Regions from separate parts of the Homo sapiens genome. Here region 2 is linked to region 1. The links are contacts of gene promoters, found by promoter capture Hi-C in blood cells and fetal thymus (Javierre and others, 2016). All regions are on one chromosome and are shown on one strand. Each heading gives the region's core, a stretch centred on a gene start or on the middle of the fragment in contact. The rest is flanking DNA. Distances are from core to core; before and after follow the strand shown.

Region 1 (2,700 bases), core at 73-2,572:
TGGCGCGATCTCGGCTCACTGCAACCTCCGCCTCCCAGGTTCAAGCGATTCTCGTGCCTCAGCCGCCCAAGCAACTGGGACGACAGGCGTGCACCACCAAGGCCGGCTAATCTTTTGTATTTCAGTAGAGACGGGGTTTCACCATATTGGCAAGGCTGGTCTCGAACTCCTGGCCTCAAACGAACCACCCGCCTCGGCCTCCCAAAGAGCTGGGATTACAGGCGTGAGCCACCGCGTTCGGCGAAAACACACATTTTCTAAGAAACTGATTGCTGGGAAGGCTACAGTGGGTAAGAGCTCTTGCTCTCTGTGGGCCTGCCTGGTTCGGAATCAGGGCAGTGCTCTCTGCCTAAGTGAACTTGGGCAATTTTCTACAAACCTCAGTTTCTGCACCCGTAAAGTAGCAACGGTTGTTCTGAGGACGGAATGAGAAAATGCATGTCAAAGTCCTTAGCATGAAGCGGCTCTCAGTAACCGTTAACCACTCCTAATTACTCCTCTTCATAATAGTAGAATTACTCATGGCCTCGCCAAACATTATGCAAATAATTTCACGTTCCCAGGTAGCTCAGCCCTCCCACAAAAGATTTGAACGTTTTCCATATGATAACGATCCACTCGTTTTTGCTAAACATCCACAATGGGCGATATCGACCTATCTGGAAGGACACACACAAATCCCTTCCCAACTCAAACACGATGTTCTTTCTGGCTGGCACCAGGGCTTCTGTTTGCAGTGACTTCCTGGGACCCGGAGCTTTCTCACAGGGCCTCTGGCATCTCCTCTGCGGTGATTAAGGTTCTTCTCATTTCCCTTCCCTGTTACTGCCCATACTCTTCAAGTTCGAAAAGTTTCCTTTTCCAATCTCTTTTCTGGGCTTGTTTACCCAAGTCTCTAATTGCCAAGGCCTCTGGTCTCTCCCCACCCACAACGTTCCTCCTGGTTAAACCCTTCCCCTCCCGCCACTCCCAGCTCCCGCCACTCCCAGCTCCCGCCACCACTGCCGCTGACGACGTCCAGCGTTTGCAGATGGTCAAAGCCGACCCCCTTCTCCTCCCACCTCGTTTTGTAAGGAAGTAATTTCGGGGCCGAGCGCTCTGCGCCCCCCGCCGCGGGTCGGCGCCGCCGCGGGTCGGGAGCGTGTCCGGGCAGGTCGCGCTCAGCGGGGTACTTCCCCGCCCGCGTCCCGCGTCCGCTCCCATAACGCCGTCTGCGGGGCGGGGACAGGGGCGGGGACAGGGGCGGGCCGGGCGTCTAGTTTCCCTACGTCACCAGGGAAGTTCTCACTGGACAAAAGCGTGGTCTCTGGCGCGGGGATCTCAGAGTTTCCCGGGCACTCACCGTGTGTAGTTGGCATCTCCGCGCGTCCGGACACCCGATCCCAGCATCCCTGCCTGCAGGACTGTTCGTGTTCAGCTCGCGTCCTGCAGCTGTCCGAGGTGCTCCAGTTGGAGGCTGAGGTTCCCGGGCTCTGTAGCTGAGTGGGCGGCGGCACCGGCGGAGATGCCTGGGAAGAAGGCGCGCAAGAACGCTCAACCGAGCCCCGCGCGGGCTCCAGCAGGTACCGACCCGCTGGGGCCAGCGAAGACCCAGGCCGGGCGGGGTCGGGGCCGGGGTCGAGGTCTCGGCTGGGGCGGGCTCAGCTCGCCGGGGCTCAAGCACAGACTGCACGGGGGTCAAGGTCGGGCCAGGTCTGTGCCCTGGCGCGAGCCTTAGGGGCGCCTCCAGAAAGTTCTTCGGGGTTTTTCCCCAGGACCGGCGGGTACGGCGGGTACGGCGAGGGACCAAGCCGGATTTGCGATTGGGATGCAGCTGCGTTTCACCAGGGGCAAAAAGCTCCTTTCCTCCTCTCTTTCCTCCTCGCCACTTGCCCTTCCCCGGGGCCACGAGGAACAAGTGCAAGTGTAGGCGGCTGTCTCTAGGAGAAAGTCATTGTCGCGGCAGAAGGGGCAGGAGAGAGCCCCGGGGACCGCCTGGACTCCCAGCGCTTCCAGAGACGGCCCCACAAGGGCCCCTGTGTTCAGGAGCCTAGAAAATCTTGTAACATTTAAATAATCGATATTGTGGGAGGTGGGGATAGGAGAATAGGAGTTAGTCCGCTCCTTTTTTTCATTCATTCATTCGCACTCCCCACCCCGATACATACAGCTCCATCGTAAGTTTTCAGGCCAGCGCCCCGGCCCCATGCTTTTTCTAAATCTAAACAGAGAACCCAGTCACTGCCCAGAGCCCGAAGTCTGTGTGGGCCATACTGCTGTTGCATCAGACGATTATACGCCCCCCCCACCTTTTAAGTTACTTTCATTTTATAGAGCTCCTGGGGCGTGCGAAGGAAGTGGTGCATTGCAAATGTGACCATGCCTAAGTTGGTAACAGGCTGCTGTCTCTGGCGCTTGTGTGGGATGGAAAAAGCTTTGTCTACCTTTTGTGATGTCTTAGGATTCTGACCTTGTTTCTTTCTGAAGGATCTTACTTATGCATAGCACTTTCTGGTCCGACTTAATTCCCAAGAACAGGAAGCAGCACAAAGTCCCTCTTAAACTTGATTTGATTGATACTAATACATTTATAGGTGTGTAATGCAATTTTTAAAAAATTAAGGAAATGACCGGGAAGTATTTTCTGCCTTGTTTTCTACATTTTTGGTGAAAGGGATAACTTTTCCACTTAGAATTCAGGGCTTCCAGTGTCGGACGCTG
Region 2 (2,700 bases), core at 65-2,564, 3.3 Mb before region 1:
GTAAAAGAATGTACTATTTCATGAAGATGGAAGTAAAGTTAAGGTAGCTATTGCCACTGTCTTCCTTACCTCAGATTATCATGGAGCAAATGCTAGGCATCTGACAATTTCATCCATAAATATTTCAGCCTGCACATCTGGAAGATGAGGAATCCTCTAAAGACATAACCGAAATATCATTATTACATTCTAATATGTTAACAAGGCTTCTTTAATATCATTAAATATCCACTCGGTTAAAATTTCCCATTTTTCTCCTAATTTATTTTATAGCTTACTTGAATCAATATCAAAATAAGACACATGCATTGCATGGGTTGATAAGTCTGATGTCTCTCTTTTATTAAAAATCAGTAAAAATCAGTTTAATCTTTGTTTCTTTTTTTCCAACTTTTTATACGGAAAAAAAAAAAACTGAGGGAAAAGTTGCAAAAGTACAATGACAGCTCCTGATTGTCAATTGTTAAAAATGGTGTCATGGTGCAGGCTGGGTTCTCTGGGAAGCTGATGCTGAGATGGAGTGAGGAGTCCAAAAGGTTTATTTCTCTCACATCTGTGAGAGGAAAAGGGAGGAAGCAGGATTGGGCCGAGGAAGGGAAAAAGCAGATCTGACAAAGTCTCTACTAACCCAAGAGGAAGCTCTAGTACAAAGATTGCCTGTTAAAGGAGTCCCCCATGGGAGCAGAAATTCCTATGCCTTGATACCACCCCCTAGAACAGGGGCCTCCCCAAGAAGAATGTGCCCTGGACTTTCCTCACCCTGCTCAGTCATTCATCAGAGGCTGCCTCAAGATTAGTGTGATCTCAGCTGGAAAGCCCAGGTGACCCTGAAGAAGCTAACAGCAAGAGTGTGAGCAAACCACTCTCCTTGCAGCTAGGAAGTGGTTCTTTCTTGAAGGGGAATCTGGGTGGTGCTTCATGTGTCTCCCATAGTCCACTATTTACACAAAAATGAGTTCCCTTCTCTACACAGGTTTGGGGAGCAACTCCTCCAGGTTTCTGGTCACCCTCTCTTCCTTATGGGAAACCTAGAAGAGGGAGGTTAGTAGACGATCTACAGCCCTGTTGCTGCAGTTGGTGACCAGGGCTACCACTAGGACTTATCAGCTCCTCCTTCATTATCTATTCTAATTTTCCCTTGCTAGTCTTGCTGGTTTGGTGAGGGGGGCTGTGAAACCCTCATTTGTGAGGAGGCTTAACACCCTAAACCTTATCACCTTCACTCCTTCCTAAAAGGCCTGAGTATGGAGTAACTAGAGATGTTTCTAGAAAAAGACATTTTGTTACTTGGAAAGAAATGGTTTGAATCATGGAAGTCATGAGACAGGAAAAAAAGAGAAGTATCAACACTTGACTTTTATGTCATGTGAGAAAGTGCAAAAGGAATCTCTTAATTGCACAAAACAGTTTTAATTACACAAAAATCATGCAAAAAACCCTTATTAAGCCTCTTTGCCATTTGGTATTAAAATAAAGCCATCGACCATGATAGGACTTTTCTGGGAGAGGGTCCAGGAAGGAAAGGGGAGTATTAGCTGAGTACTAGGCACCATGGGGAATACCAAACTACGACTGAAAACCTCGATGAGAAAAAAATAACAGCATGCATGAAGTGATCCGAAAATAACAGTAGCAATAAAGTCACTGTTAGGCCACTGGGCTATCTCCCTCTTTTGAAATTTGTAAAATGGAAGAACAAGCCTCCTTGCCTTTTGCAGAGCTAACCTGGAGCTTAAGAAGTCCAGAAGGTACTGGTGTGCTGTAGGGTAATTTGCTACTAAATTCTCAAACCCCCAACCTTGCGATCTGCCTGCCTCGGCCTCCTAAAGTGCTGGGATTACAGGCGTGAGCCACTGTGCCCAGCCTGCTACTAAATTTTAAGGACAGAGTAGTACTTAAGTTTTAAAAATGCCACTAAAGCTGGGTGTGGTGGCTCACGCCTGTAATCCCAACACTTTGGGAGGCCGAGACAGGCCAATCTTGAGGCCAGGAGTTCGGGACCAGTCTGGCCAATAGAGTGAAACCCCATCTCTACTAAAAATAAAAAAAATTAGCCAGGTGTGATGGTGTGCACCTGCAATCCCAGCTACTCGGGAGGCCGAGGAAGGAGGATTGCGTGAACCCAGGAGGTGGATGTTGCAGTGAGCTGAGATGGTGCCATTGTACTCCAGCCTGGGTGACAGGGCAAGACTCCATCTCAAAAAATATATATATATATGCCTCTAAAATGGTGAAATTCCCGATTTTATCCTGTGGGTCTCATTTATGATTCTTTTGCAGTGATAACCATACATTTTTGGTTACAACAACAATGACGACATCTCACTTGTCTCCTTGCTTCCCTGTATTTCCCACCTGATTTACATGGCACATTGCTGCCAAATTAATATTTGTGGCTGGCCCATCTTAAGTGACCCCGATAAGTCACACTCTTGTATAATCCTTTCTCCTTGAGTACAGATAAAACCCGTGACTTACTTTAACCAATAATATATGGCAAAGGTGATGGCTGTCACTCCCTAATTTAGGTTATCATCTACATCCATTTCCATATCTATGTCCATGTCCATATCCATGGCTGTATCTATATCTGTGTGACTCCTTTCTTGTGCTCAGTAGAGAGATTCTCCTTGCTAGCTTTGAAGGAGTATGCTGCCATGTTGCGAGAGAGCCTTTAGTAAGGCCCATGTGGTAAGGAAC

What was found. The method cuts DNA at HindIII sites, captures the fragments that hold promoters and counts their contacts. A CHiCAGO score of 5 or more calls a contact.
Region 2: a contact is called between a fragment that was not itself captured here and the fragment with the promoter of PMAIP1 in region 1, in 1 of 17 cell types (total CD4 T cells). The highest score is 5.8, in total CD4 T cells.

What each region holds. Positions count from the first base shown.
Region 1 is chr18:59,898,674-59,901,373 of GRCh38, forward strand. PMAIP1 (phorbol-12-myristate-13-acetate-induced protein 1) reads left to right here and starts at 1,323. Exons shown (of 2, transcript NM_021127.3): 1 at 1,323-1,562. The coding sequence starts at 1,505. RefSeq lists an enhancer at 412-1,163 and silencers at 920-1,329, 1,480-1,689. The HindIII fragment of the contact is 10,069 bases long and covers 1-2,411 here.
Region 2 is chr18:56,647,380-56,650,079 of GRCh38, forward strand. No RefSeq gene overlaps it. Among named protein-coding and RNA genes, the nearest start is that of WDR7, 2.6 kb to the right of the region's middle. The HindIII fragment of the contact is 3,586 bases long and covers 1-2,700 here.